Linked DNA regions of Homo sapiens: region 2 is linked to region 1. Evidence: promoter capture Hi-C in human tissues and cell types (Jung and others, 2019). All regions are on one chromosome and are shown on one strand. The core of a region is centred on a gene start or on the middle of the fragment in contact, and the rest is flanking DNA. Distances in the headings are between cores, read along the strand shown. Region 1 holds the start of SCN9A (sodium voltage-gated channel alpha subunit 9). Region 2 overlaps SCN9A (sodium voltage-gated channel alpha subunit 9).

The links. Contacts are between HindIII fragments. The study calls those that stand out against the background at their distance.
Region 2: a fragment that was not itself captured here is called in contact with the fragment with the promoter of SCN9A in region 1 in 1 of the 25 tissues and cell types used here (H1 embryonic stem cells).

What each region holds. Positions count from the first base shown.
Region 1 is chr2:166,373,147-166,378,988 of GRCh38, reverse strand. It overlaps SCN9A (sodium voltage-gated channel alpha subunit 9), which reads left to right and starts at 3,045. Exons shown (of 27, transcript NM_001365536.1): 1 at 3,045-3,292. The HindIII fragment of the contact is 4,548 bases long and covers 1-3,819 here.
Region 2 is chr2:166,235,034-166,241,468 of GRCh38, reverse strand. It overlaps SCN9A (sodium voltage-gated channel alpha subunit 9), which reads left to right. Exons shown (of 27, transcript NM_001365536.1): 20 at 3,202-3,375. All of the region lies in intron 4 of SCN1A-AS1 (SCN1A and SCN9A antisense RNA 1), which reads right to left. Among named protein-coding and RNA genes, the nearest start is that of SCN1A, 110 kb to the right of the region's middle. The HindIII fragment of the contact is 3,333 bases long and covers 770-4,102 here.

The DNA of each region.
Region 1 (5,842 bases), core at 1,796-4,295:
ACATGAAAGAAAATTGGGAAAATAATGAATAATATACCTAATGCTTTGCCTATGAGCTCACAGGGAAAATCCTGCAAGGGATCCCTCAGTCAGACCAAGAGGATTTTATTTTTGGTTTTATCATTTTCCAGGATTTTATGTTTGAAGATCTCTAACAAGAACCTAGATATATTGAGAATAGTAAGTTCTTGTTAATGGATGCTTAAAGTGGAATATATAATATGTTATATATTATATACAACATATGTATTATACATAACATATATTATAACATAATATAGTAATATAATATATAACATGTTATAATATATAGGTTATATATAATGTATAATGCATTATATATTCCACTCTAAGAATGTATCTAACATATGTGTTATTCTAGATATAACAGCAAAGGCATAATCTATAAGAGACATAATTGCTAAGGTGAACTGCATTAAAATTAAAAACTTCTGCTCTGCAAAAACGGACAACAAGCCAGTGTTAGATAAATATTTGCAAAAGACACATCTGACAAATGACTGTTAACCAAAATATACAAATAAAGCTTAAAACTCAACAACAAGAAAAGAAATAACCCAATGAAAAAAATGGGCCATATACCTTAACAGACCAAAGAAGATGCACATATTGCAAATAAGCATATAAAAAGGTGATCCACATCATATATCACAGGGGAAATGCAAATCAAATAACACTTATGGTATCAACAATGGGCATGAGATACCACCACATATGTATTGGAATAACCAAAATCCAGAACACTGATGATATCAAGTTCTGGCCAAGGATGTGAGGCAACAGGAACTCTCATGTATTGCTGGTGGGAATGCAAAATGCTCCAGCCACTTTGAGGACAGTGTAGCAGTTTCTTTAAAAACTAAACATACTCTCACCATATGATCCAGCAATTGTGCTCCTTGATGTTCACCCAAAGGACTTGAAAACATGTCCACACAGTAACCTTCACAAAGATGTTTATAGAGGCTTTACGCATAATTGCTAAAACTTGGAAGCAAACAAGATGTCCTTCAGTAGGTGAATGAATAAACTATGGTACCACCAGTCAATGGAATATTATTCAGCACTGTAAAGAAATGAGCTATCAAGCTATGAAAAGCCATGGAGGAAAACTAAAAGCATATTGCTAAGTGAAAGGAGTCAATCTGAAAGGGCTATATTCTGTATTATTGCAACTATAGGATATCCTGGAGAAGGCAAAACTATAAAGACAGTAAAATGATCAGTACTTGCCAGGGGTTGAAATGGGAGATGAATAAGTGGAACACAGAGAATTCAGGAGAGAACTGAAATTACTCTGTAAGATACTGTAATGGTGGATACATGTCATTATATATTTGCCTAACCCCATAGAATGGACAACACCATGAGCTAACCCTAAATGTGAACTACAGACCTTGGGAGATAATGAAACCTCAAAGTAAGTTCATTAATTTTAACAAATGTTTCATTCTGGTGGGGAATGTTGATAATGGGGGAGGCTATTCTTGTGTGGGAGTAGCGGTTATGTGGGAAATCTCTGTACCCTCCCTTCAGTTTTGCTGTGAACCTAAAATTGCTCTAAAAATAAAATTTTAAAAATAAAAGAATGTGGCATTGCTTGCATCTAATAAAAAAGACCATTATTCCTATTGCAGTTGAACTCTTCTTCCTATATCTACCACCAATCAGGGAAGAGAAGGCGATTTGTCCAGGATATGGCACTGAGAATTATCACAAGTGAGCTAGTTCACCTTCATTGCACAGTCTCAGTCACTGAAGTTTCCTTCCTTCAATAGCACATCTTACAAGTCAAGAATGTAAGGTCCAAAGCCCCAGGACAAATCTCAGAAGCAAAGAAAGCAGCAGGGAAAAGTAGACCCTGGGATTTGATTTCCTTCCGGTTATCTCTAAGCATCATTTCCATGATAGAAGGTGTGGAAGCAAATAATAAAAGTGCCCGTCACTAGTGTTTATCCTGCAAAGTGGTCTGCCCTTTTGAGAGGCACCCTGCCCTATGGCCATCCTTTGATTTCTTCCCTTGGTGGAAATTTCCTGTTTCTCTTTGAGAAAGATAATTCAACCCTGTTTCCATTGTTCTTCCTCCCAGGCTGCTGTAGGAAAGCGCACGCACACACTCCACACAAAATGAATTTTTAAAAAATTTATTTTCACAGTCGCTCCTACCAGCTCTGAAATTCAGAACCCATATGACTGATGGCATATTCAGATAATCGGGTCCCAGGTCTGGAAAAGCAGCCTTTTCCCCACGTTTCTTTCCCCACCTAGGACCTCCTCTGATTCTTCACTGCATCTTCGAAAGAAAATGTATTATTTGCTTGCCTGGAAGACGCTGCAATTCAATTGATTTTATATATACATATATATAAAGAAAACAGAAAACATAGCCTAGATACCGGTCTTGAGCGTCACCGCCCCACTCGCGGTTGTGAGCAAAGCCCTACGGAAGAAACCAATTCCCAGCCTAGACTCTTCAGAGCCCAAGGTCGGGGAGGCGCTGGCCTGGCGGTGTTGTCTGGCTCCCCAGCCACTGCCCCAGACTCAGGGCTTTGCCATTGGTCCCCACCTCCTCTGCTCCGGAGTTTTTCTCCAGCTCCCCACCAAGCCACACAAAGTGACTTCTCGGAAACATTAGCCGATTCTGCTGAGCAGGAAGGGAGGAAAGGGATGATGGGGGCGGGGGTGAGATAAGGGAAGGGCTCTTCTGGCTGCTGGACACACACACACACACACTCAAACACACACACGCCCCACCCAATGGGTGGCCGTGGATGGCAGGTCGTGCAACCCCCTCCTCCGCCTTCTATTAGCGCATGGTGCAGAGGCTACAGCGTCGCCACCACCGCGCCCCTAGCTGGGTCCCCGCCCTGCGCCGCCCGCAGGAGTGGAGAGAGGGAGGGAGGGAGGGAGCAAGGGGTGGGGACCCGGGCGCGCTGGGAGGAGTGGAGGAGGCAAAGCGGCGCAGCTGCCCTCGGGGAGGCGGGGCTGCTACCTCCACGGGCGCGCCCTGGCAGGAGGGGCGCAGTCTGCTTGCAGGCGGTCGCCAGCGCTCCAGCGGCGGCTGTCGGCTTTCCAATTCCGCCAGCTCGGCTGAGGCTGGGCTAGCCTGGGTGCCAGTGGCTGCTAGCGGCAGGCGTCCCCTGAGCAACAGGAGCCCAGAGAAAAAGAAGCAGCCCTGAGAGAGCGCCGGGGAAGGAGAGGCCCGCGCCCTCTCCTGGAGCCAGATTCTGCAGGTGCACTGGGTGGGGATGATCGGCGGGCTAGGTTGCAAGTAAGTGCCTTTTCTTTTGCTGCTTCTGTGGGGAGGGGAGGAGAAGCCCTCGGTCTTTCGCCCGTGCTCGCCTCAACCGCCACACCCACCTGTGTCTATTTTCACATCTCGGTTCTGGAACCCTGTATTACGCCACCTGGAAAGAAGAGAGGGGAGAAGCTTGACCGGGTGGTTCCAGCAATGGGAGGAAGAAGGGCTGGAAGCGTAGTTATTTCGATAGCTGGGCAGCTCCTGTGCGGTTTTGACTCTGTGGGTTTGCTGCCAGGTTCTGAAACTGTGGAAAGGAAGGGTAGCAATGCCTGGTGGTTTACTGTCTTTTATTTCTGTTTACGCTAGCAGAGTTGTTAGATGGACTTCAATTCAAGGGGCAGCTCACATTTTTTACGAGCAAAAAGCATGTGCTGTATTTCCCATCTGCAAAGCTGAGCGTGCAGAACCAGCTTAGCAGATACAACCTGTGGGGACAGAAAAGAACCCCGCACCCCTTAAGAGCACACAAACACAAATAATTGACAGGACAGCTCTGCCCCTATTTCTCAGCGCAGATTATTTATTTATTTTTTCGAATAAGCACTTTATAGTGAAATTCAGAAAAGATGCAGAATCCTTTTAACTTTTTATCGAATTCAACTTGGGAAACTCATTTACTTTTAGGAAAAAATGGATATTTTCGTGCCTTATATTCAAGACAAAAATCAGAACAAGAAACTAGAAACATTAATGCCAGTTTTTGTGATTATAGTAAACATTTCACTCATTATTTTAGTTTTTTTTTTTTAAGTTGGAGCGTTCATAGATTATATCTACTCTGATGTTAAGAGCAATTTACATGAGAAACTTAGGGGGGTTTTTAAGAAGCTAGTGTCAGTAAGATAAAAGCCAAATCAAAGTAAGCTTTCAAGGAAGTGATAGCTTGTCAGTTACTGAATAGGAAGTCAGTGTTGGGAAGTTCAGTTCTTTTCAGAAACATATTTATTATTCTTTTCTATTTCTTCTTCCCTGTAGACAAGATAAAGATTTTCTTTCTCTTTCTTTCCTTGTTATTTAAATATATTTTATAATTTTTGCTTTAACATCAATATAAACCTATTTTATATAAACTGCAAACCAAATCCAATTATTAAACTGTTCATTTTATTGCAAATTCTTCAGATTTTTTCCACTATTTAAAAAAGTTTATAATTTTTTCTTATAATTATGGTGAGATTTTTTAAAAATTATTGATTAGTTTGAAAGCTAGTCTTATCTGATCCCTGTGTCGCAAATTTTCATGATTGTTAGACTAGCTTATCAACAACAAAACTCTAGACAGAATATGGTATTTGATGTAAAGAAGAATGTGCCCTCTATTTAGGCAACTGATAGTTTGGCTTAAGACAAGTTTTTTAAAATTTTGTAGAGGTTTAAAAGGAGGTTTCCTTAAGTAAGCCACTGTGCAGTTGTGGGACTCAGTGATGTGTTTTTACAGTGACTGGATATATGATATGCCTTGATTCCTATGGTGCAGGGCTAGGCTCACAGAGTACCTGATGCTTCTACAGAAGAAAGATGAGTCAGGTCTGGCTCTCTGCCAAAAGCATCTTGGGCCTCCTTTCCCCTAGGGCCTGCATATAATCATGGGAGCCCTTCTGTGGTAATGCTTCTATGTTTTTACTACCTGTTGCTGTGCTGAGTTTCAGAAGCAAAATAGATAAACAAATAAATAAATTCAGAAGAGCAATCAGTAGGGTTCTATTTATTTAATATAATCAACCCACTTTCTCTGTGGCAAGGAAAAAAGTAGAATTTTTCATTTTACATGAATAATAAAATCTATTTTTTATCCAATTTCTATTCCTATTAGTTATGCAAAAGAGTGTGAAGTGCTAGAAGGATTTATATGGTACTTTTCTAAGACAAGTCATGATCTTGTAAAAGAGCTTAAAGTTTATTGATGTAAATGGAACATTCTAGATGTCATAATGATAATAATTTATGACTTTCCCTAAAACTCTGTCTCAGATTCTTTCCTCCCATCTTCATTATCTGAATAAATGCCTTCACCATCCAAGTATTGAAATCACCTTTGATTGCTCTCTTCCTTATTACTCCATTTCAGCCCTTTCCAGCCTGTAAGTAGATCTATCAATCTTATCTCCCAAACTTATTTCTATTTCATCATACGTCTCAGATGCCTCTCATTCACCCTCTTTTCTGTATCTACACGGCCACCAAATTAGTTCAGGTCATCATCATAATTTACTTGGAATCCTGCCACAGCCTCCATATCAATCTCTCCACTTCTGTAATTTTCTCCCCTGCAATTCATTCTCTATACAAAGCAATACCATCCTGTCTCCCCTAACAAACATTGGCTCACAACTGCATTTAAAAAAAAAAAAAAAGAGGAAGAAGAAGAGGAGAAGAAGAAATAAACATGGCAACACAGAGACCAATTAGCAACAACAGTAAATGCCTTTCCTCAGCATATGGTTTACTCTCTGTTCTGTCCCTTCTCTCCAACCTCACCAGAACCTATTCTCTTCTCATTAAGGTGCTCCTGCCCAGGTC
Region 2 (6,435 bases), core at 1,187-3,686, 140 kb after region 1:
GGTCAGCTTGTGAAGCATCTTGTGTGTTATAAAAAGGGAAAACAGATGGTAGTTTTAGGATAAAAGTAGGACAAGTTTCTCATTCTTGTACACATACAAGCAGCTTCCATGAGAGTTGAAAGAGATCTAGTAGAATTACAAGCTACCTGAACCTTTTTCTTAATTGTCATTTTTCCTGCTGACGCTGACAGAGATGAGCCATTAGAAGCCATTAGGAGCCCAGATCTAGCTAGATATACCACTGGAAGTTTCATTATACTAAAAATAGAATACTCAAGAACTTTGTAACTTGCCTCATAGACAGTCTTCATGAGTTTGGACTTTGATTTTACTGTACTTATATGCTAATAGGTTGATCTGATACTGTTTCATGGATGCTGGCAGAAGATATGAGGTGCTTGGGTCAGAGATAAAGGACTTTGTTACTTATGTGTGGAAAGTAGCATGAGTTTCAACATGTTTCTGTTGGTTCCCCCTTTACCCAGGTCTCATGGGGGCATTATATGAGCCTGAATGAGTGTGTACACATATAGTGGATTGATGTCACAGCTGAGGAACACTGAGCTTAGGGAATGCATCCTTTTATACCAAGCAACATAAGCAACCCTGCTCTTTGTCCCAGAGACCCTACCTCATGTCTCAAGGTTGCTCACTGCAAACACAACCCTGAGGAATGTCCTAGGTAAGGAGCAGGCAGAGCCTGGCATTCTTGGCACACTCCCCAACAACCTGCAGGGACCCACTGTGGCTTTCCTTTCCTATCAAGTCTCAACTCTCAGAAACAGAAAATGTGATCAGAAAAGCTCTATTTTCCTTACCTGGAGTCATCCAAGTAGAAATCATGATAGTGTCTACCATGCAATGTATTCCTAGTAACTAAGGAGGTTTATCCCATGCTGACTCACATATGTGACTGAGAATTTCAGAGAGGAGATTACAAAAAAATTAAAGTTTGGAGTAATTCCTTGTTCAAAATGTCTAAAACAGAGGAAGACATTTGGGGAGGGCATTCTCAAAAGTGTATTTTAAATAAATCATATGAGGAAGAAAAGGGAAAGATATTTCAAGAAGCTGGTGTTTGTACTTAGACAGGTTGCCAATTAAACTAGATTTTTTAAAAGTATAGCAAACCCCCATGACACGTGTTTACCTATGTAACAAACCTTCACATGTACCCTCAAACCTAAAATAAAAGTTAAAAAGAAGTAATAGCTCTCATTTAGCTTATACTTATTGTGTTTCAGAATCTTCTTTTAGATTTTCTCATTTAATTTTCAAACAACCCTGTGAGATTATGATATTTTGCTTATTTTACCAATGATGAAGCTGGGTACAGTTTTAAAAGTTGCTTAATGTCCCAAAGCTAGTAAATGACAGAGCTATCACTGAATTGACATCTAAAATCAAAGTCACCATATCTTTTCACTGTGTTGTGGCTCCTCAGAAAGAAGAGTATACACAAAACAGAAATAAATGAGTGGTAACTGAATTTAGTAACAGTAAAGCGTTAAGTCCTAAATCAGATAGAGCTCACATAAGGTCATTCTTGCCTCCTTGCTCCTACATCCACAAAATTGGTTCTGGAAGCTAGAACCCCTGTGGGCTGAATTCTAATTCCTGCTCTGGGACCAGTCAGAGAGAGGTTCTCATCATCAAGACTTCCTGCGGCTCTGCTCTGACCCTGTACACCAGTTCTAGAAACAGGCTTCGTTTTCCTTGTGACTAAGCCCCTTCCTTGTCTTTGTATTTCAAGGACTGAGTCATTGCCATAGTTTCGGTTTAGATGGCTTGCCTGATTCCTCCAGAATTTGGGGGTGGAGTGGAGGGGAGGAAAATCCTGAGGGCTAGAAGCCTCCCTCTGCACTTCAATTCCATTGAATTTCAGAACCTCTGCCAACTGCTGGGACCTTCTTTTTGCATCTTAGTAGGTCCATTCAGTCTTTCTGCCCCAACTTGTCTCTTTTCTTCAATATTGATACCAACAGTTTCCCAAAACTGCTAAGGATAATTTTAGAGTATTGAAAGCAGAACGTAGAATAAGAAGAATCTGAATGGCACAAGTTCATGACTGTAGACAGGTAATAAATATAATATTAACCACGAAGGATACAGGTCTTTGACTTTCATTTTATCCAACAGGGTTAATAGTGTTTCGATCTGAAAGAGAAAGTTCTAACACTTTAGACCTGTTGAGATCAGCAATCATTTTCAGTGTCTCAATGAGCCTTTTTTTTTTTTTTTTTTTTGAGACAGAGTCTTGCTCTGTTGCCCAGGCTGGAGTGCAGTGGCGTGATCTTGGCTCACTGCAACAATGAGCCCAATTTTTCAGTCCTTTCAAATTCTTTGTCAAGGGACATGTGGCTGAAGTCTAAAGTCAAAGTCACCCTGTCCTTTCACTGTGTTGTGGCTCCTCAGACAGAAGAGCATACACAAAATAGGAGTAAATGAGTGATAACCAAAATTAGTAACAGTAAAGCGTAAGCCCTACATTAGATAGAGCTCACCTAATGTTGTCACATAATGTTGTGTGTCACTTACTAAAATTTCTTGGAAAGCATAGGAAGCACCGCATTAATGGAGAGAATAGAACAGTGATTTTTAGAGCTGAAGCTTTGAAGGATAATATATGGATGAATAGTCAAAGGAAAAAGCACCCTCTGTGTTCTATAGGCCTATTAAGCTACTGCAGTCATTCATTTAGCAAATCTTTCCTTTCCTGCTGCTGTTATTAACATGGTACTAGGCACTGGGATGCACAAGCATTTGAGAGCTGAAAGACAGGCTCCACATCCTACTGGTGGGGAAAAAGGGGAGTGTAGGATGTGAAAAGTTTATAACAGTGGCTGGCCATGGGATCATGTCTTAAATTGCTAGGACTTATCCAATTTTAATGGAGAAAGAGGAGGAATCAGATGGAGGTGGAAATGATCAGGTGTCAGAGATCATGAGTCTTTTTGTGGATTATAAGTAATTTCATTCTTTTGCACTTTCTCTTGACCTCTGAAGACCAGCAGCAGCACTGGTGAGAAGGCTAGAACTAACTGTTATATGATAACTGTAAACCAGAAAAAATGTCAGCTGGCCCATGTCAATATTATGTTTCAGCAGTCTTAGCATTAGAATTGTATTTTTCCTGTTTTTTTTAAATGAATCATGAAGCTTAAGTTGTGCATGATTGAAACTTGAATATTATTTCCACAGGCTTTTGAAGATATTTATATTGAAAGGAAAAAGACCATTAAGATTATCCTGGAGTATGCAGACAAGATCTTCACTTACATCTTCATTCTGGAAATGCTTCTAAAATGGATAGCATATGGTTATAAAACATATTTCACCAATGCCTGGTGTTGGCTGGATTTCCTAATTGTTGATGTAGGTACTTTTGAGTACATTTTAAAAGAGGATTTATTCTTACTGTGTGTTGTGAAAAAACCTTCACCACTATTGCATATTATCATATTTTAATTTTGTTAAGCTTCATATATTTTCAGGCTATAGGTTTATTCTTTTAGAAATATTAACACAGCCAGTGGAAATATATCTGTGAGGAATATTAGAACAGAAATCGTTCAACAAATGTAAATTATTTCTGTGACATTGTAACATTTATAATTGAGTTTTTTATGTTTTCTGCAAAGGAGATGTGATTTTTTAAAAAATATGATTTGAATGTCATTCTTGTTAAGAATAAAACAAAATTTAGAAGTAGGAGATGATAAAAGGGCAGAGACACAGATTAAAGAGAGGAAATGATGATTATTCATAATGTAAAATTGGAAGATAAGAGAGGATGAGGGGCACATCAAGTTGGCTGATATGTGAGCTAAAATTTTTCTAAAAATCATTATACAAATACAAAGTTAACTTTGTATTTGGGGAGAGAGAAGTCATGAAATTTTAAAATATCTATCTCAGACCCAATTATAGGAAAAACCAAAATGAGACACAATTGTCTCTATCTCAAATATGCGACTTGCCCTTCATCTCCAGAATGGCAGTGGGGCAGAGGAGTAGGCATTATTATTAATGTAATAATTTTAGATAATAAATTCAAAGAACTGTTGAATACTTGGATGATGGAAAATACATAATAATTCTTTAGTTTACATATTATTTTAACGAAGTAGAAATATTTTTACAGGCTTCTGATTGAGATAGAGAAGAAATCTTAAAATAGTCGGTGAGATCAAGGACTCTCAAATAGAAACTAACGGTACAATACCCATTATTATCATTTCATTGAATGTACTCTAATTATTTTATATTTTAATAATATAACTTAATAATATATATGACATATTTTGTATTAATTAAAATGGCTTTCTTACATTATTTTATAACCTCAATCTCCCAGTCTTATTTTTCTCAGAATGATATGTTCTTTATCTTTTACTAATTCTTCTAGATTTTCAGAAACCTAACCTTTGTGTTTAGGGAAGAAACATCCTATAATCAGTCATAGTTTTTAGAGATTTGTTTTCCATATGATGCCTGACATAATTAGAGGTCAACACGCAAATTTGTATATGCCAATAAGTGCTTTAAAATTTAACCAAGGGTTTGCATTATCGAGCTTTTAAGAAAAGTTGAATTCATACAGCATCATATGTGGATTAGAAAATCACAAGTAAGCATGATCATACATAGTAAAATCTGACTGCAAAATGTTACCAAATTAGTCATATTTACTCAAAAGTTCAATTTCTCAACTGTTATTCAAAGCTTCATAAACTTTTGGCTTCTGGCCAGGCGCGGTAGCTCACGCCTGTAATCCCAGCACTTTGAGAGTCCGAGGCAGGTGGATCACCTGAGGTCAGGAGTTTGAGACCAGCCTGGCCAACATGGTGAAACCCCGTCTCTACTAAAAAATACAAAAAATTAGCCAGACATGGTGGCAGGTGCCTGTAATCCCAGCTACTCAGGAGGCTGAGGCAGAAGAATCGCTTGAACCCGGTAGGCAGAGGTTTCAGTGAGTCGAGATCGTGCCACTGCACTCCAGCTTGGGCGACAGGGTGAGACTCCATCTCAAAAAAAATAATAATAATTTTCGTTTTCTTAATCACACAACATATTAAATGTTAAAAACAATAACTTTTTTCTATAATATGTAATGTGAAAAAATTTTTAACATAGCTATATATTACACCTTATATGTGTTATCTTAGGTTTCCTCTATGAGAATTCTAACTTCGGATATAGTAATGATTTCTTGCTATTTTTCAATTAATCATTCATATATCAAGTTATCTAGTTACTGCCTAAAAAATGAAAAATGATAAAATGGGTATTTTTGTAATATAGTAGTTTTGAAGAAAGGCTGCCCCAAATAAGAAGAAATTATAGAAGGAATGTAGATTTTCTTTTCTCTTAAACTGTAAATATGACGGGGTCTCTCTCTTAAAAAATTATACAATATTTTAGATATTTTAAAATCTTTAAAATATTATCACAAATACACTCATTTTCATCATTCAGTGTAAGAAATGAAGGTTTACAAGTAAAATTGAACTTATTTTAAATTAAGAGATATGGCTGTTTAATAATGGAAATTGTTTTATTTGAAAATTTAAAGTGATGATTCTCAGTGAGTATAACCTCCTGTTCAGGGGTATGTAATGTGCAGAAATCAGGGAGATAAACAACTCCAATTTGAAATATTATTTAATATTTTGGAAACGAACAAATATAATGCAAAGCACAGAGAGTAAAGCTCCACACAATATTCTTGCTGACAGAGATGCAAATTTTGGGACACAGATTTGGGGGAGTGGCTGATTTTTTTTTTTTCTGAAAAGTATAGAAACTTATCTACAGCAGTTGTTCTTGAAGGATGGTCTCAAAACTGAAAACGTTGGCACATGTAGGTGAGAACTCATAAGAGATGCAAATTCTGCCCCCAACCCCAAGACATACTGAATCAGAAACTCTGGGGTTGGATGTGGCAAATCATTGTAACAAGCCCTACAGATGATTCTGTTGTATATTCAGATTTCAGAACTACTTATATTATTTGCTACTCAGAGAATGGACTTGTCTGATTTCTGCAGGCTTCTGGGTTATTTGAAACTTACTTGATTAAACAGTGTTCTTCAGTACAGGCGTATATTTGTATATATACGTGTGTGTTTATAGAAAGATGTGAATATATATGCATATATATTCTCAGTTACAAACTATACCATAGTCTTAATAATATGCATATATTCCGTGTCATAAAACTCACTTAACAGTGGCTTGGAGAACAGACCTATTAGTATTTTAGGGGCTGTATCAATTATAACAGACATGTCTTAGTCTACCTTTTATTGCTGTAACTGAATACCTGAGACTGGTTAAAGTATTCAATAAAGAAATTTATTTCTTAAAGTTCTGGAAGCTGGGAAGTCTAAGGTGAAGGGTCCACATCTGGTGGGAACTTTCTTGCTGGTGGGC